4 separate regions of the Homo sapiens genome follow, and all the other regions are linked to region 1. Evidence: promoter capture Hi-C in 16 types of primary human blood cells and fetal thymus (Javierre and others, 2016). All regions are on one chromosome and are shown on one strand. Each heading gives the region's core, a stretch centred on a gene start or on the middle of the fragment in contact. The rest is flanking DNA. Distances are from core to core; before and after follow the strand shown.

What was found. The method cuts DNA at HindIII sites, captures the fragments that hold promoters and counts their contacts. A CHiCAGO score of 5 or more calls a contact.
Region 2: a contact is called between a fragment that was not itself captured here and the fragment with the promoter of PKD1L1-AS1 in region 1, in 4 of 17 cell types (total B cells, naive B cells, M2 macrophages and 1 more). The highest score is 10.2, in total B cells.
Region 3: a fragment that was not itself captured here is called in contact with the fragment with the promoter of PKD1L1-AS1 in region 1 in 3 of 17 cell types (total B cells, M1 macrophages and naive B cells); the score reaches 11.9 in total B cells.
Region 4: a contact is called between a fragment that was not itself captured here and the fragment with the promoter of PKD1L1-AS1 in region 1, in 1 of 17 cell types (M2 macrophages). The highest score is 5.3, in M2 macrophages.

The regions. Positions count from the first base shown.
Region 1 is chr7:47,793,933-47,796,799 of GRCh38, reverse strand. It overlaps PKD1L1-AS1 (PKD1L1 antisense RNA 1), which reads right to left and starts at 1,509. Exons shown (of 4, transcript NR_161269.1): 1 at 1,357-1,509. It overlaps PKD1L1 (polycystin 1 like 1, transient receptor potential channel interacting), which reads left to right. Exons shown (of 57, transcript NM_138295.5): 55 at 650-811. The HindIII fragment of the contact is 8,231 bases long and covers 1-2,867 here.
Region 2 is chr7:47,549,571-47,552,437 of GRCh38, reverse strand. The region is part of intron 1 of TNS3 (tensin 3); the gene reads left to right. Among named protein-coding and RNA genes, the nearest start is that of TNS3, 31 kb to the left of the region's middle. The HindIII fragment of the contact is 4,599 bases long and covers 1-2,867 here.
Region 3 is chr7:47,629,826-47,632,692 of GRCh38, reverse strand. It overlaps LINC01447 (long intergenic non-protein coding RNA 1447), which reads right to left. Exons shown (of 4, transcript NR_108090.1): 4 at 2,800-2,867. Among named protein-coding and RNA genes, the nearest start is that of LINC01447, 9.3 kb to the right of the region's middle. The HindIII fragment of the contact is 613 bases long and covers 1,209-1,821 here.
Region 4 is chr7:47,944,855-47,947,721 of GRCh38, reverse strand. All of the region lies in intron 1 of PKD1L1 (polycystin 1 like 1, transient receptor potential channel interacting), which reads left to right. Among named protein-coding and RNA genes, the nearest start is that of PKD1L1, 2.2 kb to the left of the region's middle. The HindIII fragment of the contact is 4,025 bases long and covers 1-2,867 here.

The DNA of each region.
Region 1 (2,867 bases), core at 260-2,759:
TAGCCAGGATGGTTTCAATCTCCTGACCTCATGATCCGCCTGCCTTGGCCTCCCAAAGTGCTGGGATTACAGGCATGAGCCACTGCGCCCAGCCCTGTTTGGGTTATTTTTTAAACAATTGGATGTGTAAAAATTCGAGTTTGTTACCAGTAGGCTTTTGAGCTAACAGCTTACAGCCTGCAGTGAAGAAATAAACCACCTGGAGGCTTATAGAGCACATGTTGAGGGCACAACAACTTGCTGAGCCCAAGACCCTTTCTGGTCTCCCAGGCACAGGCACAGGCCTCTCTCCTGAGGCTCACCCACAGCTCAGAATGGTTCACCAGGGGACACTGAAACTGAGACACAGACTTTACATATGGGCATGCACATCGCGTTGATAATCTCAGTCTCCAAAGTTAGATACTGAAAACAACCTTTATAATACAATGAATTTCCATTGCTGAGATCATCTTACTGCCATTTAGTTCAATTCAGGAGAGGTATTTTCCTGATTTTGCTTTTTTTCACCAAGAAATCACTATTTTACCAAAAGCTCGTAAAGTAGCATCATCAGATATAATCTCCATTGCATAGTTTATCACGTTAACAAAGCTCTTTATTTAGGCTGCTAACATGAAATTTGTCTTTATTTTTTTCTTTTTCCTAGCTGAGAGGTTTTCTCATGACTTTACCCCAAAAAAGAAAATCTTTTCAAAGTAAATCTTTTGTGAGACTTAAAGATGTCACTGCTTATATGTGGGAAAAGGTCCTCACCTTTCTGAGACTGGAAACACCAAAGTTGGAAGAGGCTGAGATGGTTGAGAATCACGTAAGCTGTGAGATCTTGGATTACTGAGCATGATAGCACACACTCAAGATGATGGTTTCATTGCAGAATTTTGCTTTCAGTTATCAAAGCATGAGTATGTTTCCATGCCAAATCTCCTTGCAAAGCCACAAAATTAGTCTCAATCATAGTGGAACTCATGGAATTTTCCCGTGCAATTCTAAAACACTTTACAGATTACCAAGCACATTCTCCTGCCTTAACTCACTATATCCTTATAGTGACCTGTACAGTTGGAAAGACAGAGTTTATGGTCTTCCCCAGGACACAGACATGCTGTATTCTGTCCCCTGAGTTAGTCATTTGCTTTTGGTGCCTGCTATCAAACCCAAACTTCTATCCAAAACATAGAGCCTTAGGTGCATTACTTGAGTTCAGTCACCCCAGACATGCATGTAAACAAATCAAACCAGGCGTTTGCACACTGAATACTCACTTTCTTCATGGCTGATATATTAGTTTGTTTTCATACTGCTGATAAAGACATACCCAAAACTGGGAACAAAAAGAAGTTTAATTGGACTTACATTTCCACATGACTTGGGAGGCCTCAGGTTCATGGTGGGAGGTGAAAGGCACTTCTTACATGGTGGTGGCAAGAGAAAAATGATCCAGATGCAAAAGTGGAAACCCATTATAAATGATCAGATCTTGTGAGACTTCTTCACTATCACAAGAATAGCATGAGAAAGACCAGCCCCTATGATTCAATTACCTCCCACTAGGTCCCTCCCACAACATGTGGGAATTCTGGGAGATATAATTCTAGTTGAGATTTGAATAGGGACACAGCCAAACAATATCATTCTGCTCCTGGCCCCCTCCAAATCTCATGTCCTCACATTTCAAAACCAATTATGCCTTCCCAAAAGTCCCCCAAAGTCTTAACTCATTTTAGCATTAACCCAAAAGTCCACAGTCCAAAGTGTCATCTGAGACAAGGCAAGTCCCTTCCACCTATGAGCCTGTAAAATAAAAAATAAGTTAGTTACTTCCTAGATACAATGGGGGTACAGGGATTGGGTAAATACAACTGTTCCAAATGGGAGAAATTGGCCAAAACCAAGGGGTTACAGGCCCCATACCAGTCCAAAATCCAACAGGTCAATCAAATTTTAAAGCTCCAAAATGATCTCCTTTGATTCCAGGGCTCACATGTAGGTGATGCTGATGCCAGAGGTGGGTTCCCATGGTCTTGGGCAGCTCTGCCCCTGTAGCTTTGCAGGGTACAGCCTCCTTCCTGGCTGCTTTCATGGGCTGGCATTGAGTGTCTGTGGCTTTTCCAGGTGCACAGTGCAAGTTGTCAGAGGATCCACCATTCTGGAGTCTGGAGGATGGTGGCCCTCTTCTCACAGCTCCACTAGGTCCCTTCCACACTGCCCTAGCAGTTCTCCATAAGGGCCCCGCCCCTGCAGAAAACTTTTGCCTGGGTATCCAGGCATTTCCATACATCTTCTGAAATCTAGGCTGAGGTTCCTAAACCTCAATTCTTGACTTCTGTGCACCCATAGGCTCAATACCACATGGAAGCTGCCAAGGCTTGGGGGTTCCACTCTCTGAAGCCCCAGCCCAAGTTGTACAATGGCCCCTTTCGGCCATGGCTGGAGCAACTGGGACACAGGGCACCAAGTCTCTAGGCTGCACACAGCACGGGGAACCTGGGCCCAGTCCACTAAACCACTTATTCCTCCTTGGCATCCAGGCCTATGATGGGAGAGGCTGCTGTGAAGGTCTCTGACATGACTTGGCGACATTTTCCCCATGGCCTTGGGGATTAACATTAGGCTGCTTGCTACTTATGCAAATTTCTGCAGCTGGCTTGAACTTCTCCCCAGAAAATGAGTTTTTCTTTTCCACTGCATTGTCAGGCTGCAAATTTCTTTAACTTTTATGTTCCATTTCCCATTTAAAACGGAATGCTTTTAACAGCACCCAAGTCACCTTTTGAATGCTTTGCTGCTTAGAAATTTCTTCTGCCAGATACCCTAAAAATCATCTCTCTCAAGTTCTAAGTTCCACAAATCTCTAGGGTGGGGCA
Region 2 (2,867 bases), core at 128-2,627, 240 kb after region 1:
CTTTAGTTTGTTAAAAAAAACTGAGTATCTGCAAAGTTCAATAAAGCAAAGCACAATAAAACGAGGTCTGTCTGCCTGTGTGTGTCTTGTTGATTTCTGCAACGGAGGCAGAGAGTGATTTTTTGTTGTTATTTTTCTTCTTGTTTCTCCAGGCAAATTGTTTCTCGCCTTCACTCATGTGCCAAGCTCTAGACGGCTTCCTGGCTTGGCAAGATTACTGTTAACGCATCCCTAAGCATTCCTTTTATTTGTTAAATCCCTGTTATTCTGTTAGAATCTATCTTGCAGCCAAAATAGCCTCAGGAGAAAAATAATGAAAAAAAAAGAAATGAATTAGGTGTGCCAGAAGAATGTGATGGGCGTGGGGAGGTTTATGCAGATAAATATGGTGGGTAAGAATGCCGCCCCTTTTCAATGTCTGTTTAAATGTTTCCATTTTCCTTGTAAAAGCACTCCAACACAAGAAGTGCATTTGCAGAGAGGCCAAGGATCGCTCCCGGTGGACACACGGTTTTGTAGCCTCCCTCTCCACCCCACCCCTGCCCCGCTCCAGCTGTGCCTTAGCAGACGTCATTCCCTGTTATTTCAGTCTCTGCAAGTGCAAGAATTTAGGGTGATAACAGCCATACTTCCATTCCATGAATTTGCACACTTCTTACTCTCTACTTATCTAACACACATGTGCACAGTGTGAACCTTGGTCTGCTGACTTAACTTTGCCTGTGTGGGGTGTTGTTTCTCTCCTGTCTGTGGACACTTACTGAGTTGAGATTCACAGGTGTGGAAAGAGCAGGGTCTGCAGTGCGAATGTTTTCGTAGTTCTCATTGTAGACTGTCCAATGACTTTTCAAAGTGCTCCCCAAGGCATGAATTATTCCACTGGGGGTCTCCTTGCCTGTAGTTTTGAACCCTGACCCAGCCAAAGGCTCCCCTGCTCCTGGTGGCTATGCTGGAACTCTAGCTCCTTCCCTTTGGCCTGAGGTGGCCACACCCAGGGCTCCAGCCACATGACGTTTTGTGCCCTCACCCACCTCCTCCGTGGTCTCCCCATTTGCTTAAGGAAACACCTGGAGTGAGACAGAACCATCCAGTCCATGGCTGTGCCCCACTGGGCCTCCACCTTCAGGACGTGCCCAGGGTCTAGCCACCTGCTTTTGCTCAGTTCCCGAGTCCAGCGGCAGGAAGTGGACACCAGGCCAGCCTTCTGCCCGGGAGCTCAGGTGCTAGAGCTTGTCTGCCCTCTGTGCAGCAGGGAGCCCACCTTGCCCATTTGAGAAAGAAGCAGGGGCACTCCGAGGAGATGCTTCCTGAAGGAACCGGGTGTTTTAGGAAGATCTTCCTGGCGCTTCCCACAGGTCTGGTGAATGCTATTCACCCAGGCTCCCAAGAGGCTGAGCCCCTCCTTGCCCTTTTTCTGAGTGAGCTCATGTTCCTTGGCTGGGTGCAGACTTGGGAGATGTGCTCAGTCACTCCACAGCAAAATTCTGTCTCTTTGGGGTGGCATGACTCCTCAGGAGTGGGGTAAGACTGTTTAGGAATGACCAAAACTTAGGTCTGTTTTGTTTTGTAACTTTGTTAATATCCCATGGGCGTTTTCCATATAAGTGAATATGGATGTGATTATTATTTTTAGTGACTTCATAGTATTCGAATCCCATTCTATGTTAGTACCATAAAATGACCAGAGCCCAGTTGCTGGCTATTAAAACTGCTTCCAGCCTTTTTTGTTGTGCATAATTCTGTACCCTGCCCTTCCACGTAGATCTTTCCAGGCATGGTCATTGCCTTAGAACACATTCCTTGAAGGAGAATTGACCATTGTGATATGTGTTTGAAATGAGAACATAGAGATTTTGTTCTCATGTGCCTTGCCCATTGAGACCCTGCTGCAAATGTGTCTTTGTGCTTCTATCTCCTGGTCCTAGCTGTCTTGCTGTGGGACAACTAGGGACAGCATCTTGCTTACATGAGGTTGGGAAGGTGAAGGTCAGAGGGACAGCAAGCCAAGGTTACCGCCTTACAGGACGGATCCTGTGGTCTGGCTGCTCACCCATTTGTTCTACGCGTTTATCTTTTGCAAAGGGCTGTGCAGTTCACCAAGCCCTCTCCATACATCAAGGCTTCCTGTGGACATTGCTGGCCATGGAACCATGGGGCCGTGTTTCTATTCCCATTTCCCTTCTTCCTTCCTTCATTAATTCAGCAAACAGGCATGGACCCCTTCTCGCGTCTGGGCCTTGGATAGGTGAAGGGCAGGGTGAGGGTGCAGGGCTTCCCTGTGATGTAAGAACTTTTGTGGGGCCCTGAGGCCTGGGGCCAGAAGACCTTGCCCGATCCACCCTGAGAAGGCCTCGCAGGGGAGACCTCAGTGTTGCATTTGGGGACCAATGTTTAGCTGAGTGGGGATGGGTGGGAGGGATGGAAGAGGGGAGAGGAGACCAAGGCATGGGTCTGGCACCCCTGTCAAGAGCCAAACGAAGTAACTAGGTTGTGGGGATGGGGTGGGAGGGCGGGGACGTGGGTAGAGTTGATACTGCAGTGTTCTGGTCAGAGCATGAAAAACCTGGAATGGGCCAGTAGGTGGTCTGTGTGCCAGGGCCCATCAGGAGTATCATTCATTCATTCAGCAAATCCTTAGCTGTGTTCTAGGCAGGGGGATCCCTCTGAACCGGATGGACAGATGGACTAGAGTTTATGCCCTCTTAGAGGTGAGTTTTTCATACCCGATGACTGTAAGACCAAGGTGGATGGACTTTTCCCTAGGGCCTCATGCAGGAGAGGCATAAACTGAGCAGGGATCTGGGGGAAGTGAGCCCGTTTGTAAGGACAGCAAGTGCCAATGTCCTGAGGCAGCACCTGGCTGAGGA
Region 3 (2,867 bases), core at 266-2,765, 160 kb after region 1:
TGCCTCCCGGGTTCATGCCATCCTCCTGCCTCAGCCTCCCAAGTAGCTGGGACTACAGGCGCCAAGAGTGGGGATTGCTATACGAGCCCAAAGTTCCTACAGAACCTCATTTCACCATCACTTCCTTCTCTGTTTCCTTCCCTTCCCAGCCCCCGTCAGAGGGCCTCTCAGCCCCAACCTTATGTCCCCTCCCAGGCCCCCATCCTGCCCCAGCCCCACATGGCTGCCTTCAGCCTGTTCTTCCTAAAATATTCATCTGATTGAAGCACTGCCCCCACCTCAAACACTCTGATGGCTGGACATCACCCAGGGTGCCAAATTCTGAGCCTCCACTGCCCCACGCACAGTGTGCAGCCCTGCAGCCTTCCCAGGTTCCTCTCCCACCCACCCCCTGACACCCTGGACTGACTCCCCTTACAGGAAGGCCTCCCCTGCTTCATTTTCTTCCCTACCCAAAGAGACTGCAGACATAAAAGCTCCCCCACCTTCCAGCCCAGGAGGATTCCAGTCACTTCTTCCTCATCAGGTTCCATCCCTGACCAGATGGTTATCACACTGTGTTATTTATCTATCATCTGTGTCCCCACCGAGCTCAAGCTTGCAATCCCTAAAGGTCAGAGGTTGCATCTTCAACCAGCACCCGGCACACAGCAGGTGTGCAAAAGATGCCTGCAGGAAGGCGAGCTAGTTAAGGGCCTGCTCAGCTGCCCCGAGCCAGTGCCTGGTGGCCGAACCAGCTCCAAGCTGGTTCTTGCCCATCGCACATGCCGGTGTCCCTCATTCCACATTTCCCCTTCACTGCGGGACATTTCAGCATGCTGAGTCTCCTCAGACACTAGCACAAGGGGGCAGGTGCTTACTGAAAGTCCAGCCCGGGTGCATATGTGGCCTATGTGTGCAGTGATGCACCACTTCATGGCGGGGATACGTTCTGAGATTTTGTCATTGTGCGGTCATGGAGTGCACTTACACAAACCGAGGTGGTGGAGCCTCCTACTCACCTAGGCTACACCGGACAGCAGATTGCTCCTAGGCTACAAGCCTGTCCAACGTGTTCTGGTACTGTATACTATAGGCAATTGTAACATAGTGTAAGTATTTGTGTATCTGGACCTATCTAAGCATAGAAAAAGTACAGTAAAGTTACAGTATACAAAAGATAAAAAAAAAATGGTCCACCTGGATAGGGCATTGTCAGGAATGAAGCTTGTAGGACTGAAGGCTGCTCTGGGTGAGGCAGTGAGTGAGTGGTGAGTGAATGTGAAGGTCTAAGACATTACTGTACACCTTTGTAAACTCTATAAACACTGCACTTAGTCTACAATACATTTAATTTTATTTATTTATTTTGAGATGGAGTCTCGCTCTGTTACTCAGGCTGGAGTGCAGTGGCGCAATCTCGGCTCACTGCAACCTCCACCTCCCTGGCTCAAGCAATTCTCCCACCTCAGCCTCCCAAGTAGCTGGGATTACAGGTGTGTGCCACCACACTGGGCTACTTTTTGTATTTTTAGTAGAGATGGATTTTTGCCATATTGGCCAGGCTGGTCTTGAACTCCTGACCTCTGACGATCCACCCGCTTCAGCCTCCCAAAGTGCTGGGATTACAGGCGTGAGCCACTGTACCTGGCCTAAATTTATTTTTAAATTTTCTTTCTTCAATTATAAATTAAACTTAGCTTCCTGTAACTTTTTTACTTTATAAACTTTTACATTTTTTAGCTTTTTGACTTTTTAAAATAACATCTGGCTTAAAATGCAAACACAATTTATAGCTGTACAAAAATATTTTCTCTTTTTAATATCCTTATTAAATAAGCTTTTTTCTATTTTTAAAGTCTTATTTTTAAATTTTCACATTTTTTGTTAAAAATTAACACACAGACACACTAGCCTAGGCATACACAAGGTGAGAACCATCAATATCACTGTCTTCCACCTCCACATCTCATCCCATCAGGAGGTCTTTAGGGCCAATAACATGCATGGAGCTCTCACCTGTGATAACAATGCCTTCTTCTGGATGCTTCCTGAAGGGCCTGCCTGGGGCTGTTTTACAGTTAACTTCTTTTTTATAAGCAAAAGTAAACTCTAAAATAACAATAAAAAGTATAATAGGCCGGGGCCTGGTGGCTCACTCCTGTAATCCCAGCACTTTGGGAGGCCGAGGGGGTGGATCTCCTGAGGTGGGGAGTTCGAGACCAGCCTGACCAACATGGATAAACCCCCATCTCCACTAAAAATAAAAAATTAATTGGGTGTGGTGGCGCACGCCTATAATCTCAGCTACTAGAGAGGCTGAGGCAGGAGAATCACTTGAACCCGGGAAGGGGAGGTTGCAGTGAGCCGAGATCATGCCATTGCACTCCATCCTGGGCAACAAGAGCAAAAAAAAAAAAAAAAATCCATCTCAAAAAAAGAAAAAAATATATATATATACACACACACAAACGTATACACACACACACACACACACACATATATATATATATGCCGGCCGCAGTGGCTCACATCTATAATCCCAGCACTTTGGAAGGCTGAGGCAGGTGGATCACTTAAGCTCATGAGTTCAAGACCAGCCTGTGCAACATGGCAAAACCCCGTCGCCACAAAAAATACGAAAGTTAGCCATGGCACCCGCCTGTAATTCCAGCTACTCAGGAGGCTGAGGTGGGAGGATGGCTTAAGCCTGGGAGGCAGAGGTTGCAGTGAGCTGAGATTACACCACTGCACTCCAGCCAGGGTGACAGAGCCAAACCTTGTGTCAAAAAACAAACAAACAAACAAAAAACATATAATACATAAACCAGTAACAGTCATTTATTATCACTATCACGTATTATGGGCTGTACATAATCGTGTGTGCT
Region 4 (2,867 bases), core at 125-2,624, 150 kb before region 1:
TACTGGGATTACAGGCATAAGCCACCGCACCCAGCCTCCATGGGTCTTATTTCTAAACCCTCTTCCCCATGCTCTGTGCGCGCCAGCACCCATGTGTTGTTGAGGCTGGGCAGCCTGTGTGCTCTGCTGTTGACTGTCTCATGGCAGTGTGACATGGTGCAAACCTCCATGCCCCCTTTCCTGGGCGTGAGGCCAGCAAGGTGACCTGCCTGTGGGATGTGGTAAGGACCCAGGTGGGTCACCGCTGTCCCCTGGCCTGGCATGATGGGAGCCTGTGCCTGCAGATCTTGCCCAGTGGGGTACCCCGCCACTGCAGGTCACTTTACCTCCTCACCCCCAGATTTCTCATCCTGAAAATCTGAGTACCCCTGTTGTCACATCTGTAAACTCCAGAGGGTCGTTATAAAAATCAGTATCCTTGATGAATGCTTGCTGTCAGCATTTCTGCCTTTGTTAGCTTACTGTCTTTGTGCCATCACCATCATTTTATCAAAGAAACCCAAAGCAAACCAGGATGAGAAAATGAGGCTGCACGTGTTGACGGGGTTGGTCACATTCATGCTTGGAAATTTCTTTGCCTTATGTCACTCACTGCTGCCAAGCATTGTCTGATTTTGGCTACAATTTTTTCCCTTATTTTTTCTGGTTACCTCATGTTTCTTTTATTCCAAATGCCCATGCTCCTGCAGACTCCCAGAGCCTTGATGTTGGCCCAATTTGACCTTCACTCTTATCAGTCAGGGAATTGCAAGGAATTACCCCTTTGCCCTTAGAAAGGAAAGAAAAGCTGAGGAGCGGAAGTCGCTGACTTGATGTTTTTTCCCCTGTATATTTATACATCTTGTACTTGCAGACCAACTAGTTCATGCACGCACTAGCCATTGTAATTGGTGTCGAGGCCCCATTTCTGAAGTCATAGCCTTTTGGGGTTTCCTGAGTCACCTAAAGCAAGACAGTGACTGATCTTGTTCATAGAAACAGAAGAGGTTTCTTGACTCTCCTGTAGCCCTCATTTCATGGAGTTAGGCCTGTAGTGTCTGTGTGTGTGTGTGTGGTATAGGACATGTGTGTGGGTGGTGTGGTGTGTGGTCTGTGTGTAGTGTGTGGTGTATGTGTGGTATGGTATGAGTGGGGTATGGTGTGTGTGTGATACATGGTGTGTGCTGTGTGATGTGTGTGTAATGTGTTGGTGTGTGTGTGGTGTTTGTGTGTATGGTGTGTTTGTGTGGTGCGTGGTGTGTGGTGTGTGCGATGTGTGTGTGGTGGGTGGGTATGTGCTGTGTGGTGTGTGTATATTGTGTGTGATGCTGTGTGGTGTGTTTGTGTGGTGTGAGTGTGGTGTGGTGTGAGTGTGTGGTGTGTGTTTGTGTGGTAGGTATTTGTCCTAATGCTCTCCCTCCCCTTGCCCCCCAGCCCCTGACAGGCCCCGAAAAACACTCACTCTTAAGGGATTCTAAGAGATCTGTCATGTAATTCAAACAAATGGCTCGACTAGTTCCCTTGAGGCACATGATGCCTCAGAGACTGTGTTTGAGCCATCAGTATCATCCTGTTCCCCGACAGTCACAGTTAACTAAGAGGAAGCCAGGTACCTCTGTGAAAATGGTGCTGATTCTGTGCCAGGGCCTGGGGACCTGCCTCCTCACAACACCAGGAAAAAGAGCCTCCCTTGTATTTAAATTATCTCCCCCTTCCATTTTTTTTATTTGAAAAGACCTCTGAAATCTCAAGGAAAATTAGCTTTGCAGCACTATCCTTGGCGCCTCTGTGAGTGGAGGACACACCTGTTGGGGATGTGTTTCTCACCTTCTGAGACAGAAAATTACTTCTCAAGGGCCAACTATGTCCCAGGAACCAGGGCTGGTGTTTTCTGTGTGTAGCACTTGGAAGTTATCCTGTTGTGGGGGTGTCTGGGAGGGTCTCGGAACTTGGTGGGTGCCAGGGCTATCTAACCTTGTGTGGGCCCAGAGTGGTGGGCAGTCTCACAGCTGTGGACTGTGGGGCGCACGTGGTGGACAGAGGTTAGGTTCGTCCTTTCCTTAATTTTATTTGCCCGCTAGATCATTGCAGAAATCCTCTAAGTCTGATCTGGTCTGGTCTGTATGATTCCAAAGTTGTCCCCTTTTCTATTATTGTTATTTTTTATTTTTTCATTTCTCTGGCCTTTGGAAGACAAGCATAGTTGAGAGTAGGCAAGGAAATCCTTGGAATTATTCAACAGTTTGAGGCCTTTGACCTAGTGACCATCTTCATCTTCAAAATAACAGCTTTTCACCTCCCTGCACACTTTCCTCAACTATAAATATTGTCCTCGTCTGCCCTCTGGTGGCGGCTTCTTGGGCATCAAGAACCAGGCTTGTAAAAATTGGGTGAAACTATCCAGTTTTATCTTTGTAGAAACCTTGCTTAAGATAAAGTAGATATCCTCTAGACTTTATAGACATCCAAGACAGGTAAAAAAGAGAATTCTAAAGAGCTGAATGCATTTTTCAGGGGAAAGAACAAAGGCGAACACCTTTAGCAGCTGGTTACCAAGCATTTAGCTAATACAGGGCGGCCCTTTCTAGAATGACAGTCCTGGCAGCAGCCCCGTGAAGTAGGTCTGTGTCGTTCCTCTCAAACAGAGAAGGAGACTGACACAGAGAGGCAAGGTGACTGCCTGTGTCTAGAAGAAGTGGATGTAGAGCCTGCCCTTCTCCTTAGCACAGCAGCCTATATGGAGCTGGGAACTTGGCAACGGTTCCCATTGCCCTGTCGCTGGGAATGGGCATGGAGGAGAAACCCAAATCACACCATCCATTTCTGGCTGAATCAAGACCAGAACCCAGGAAACCCGCACCTTAGTTCAGGACTATTTCACTCGCTGC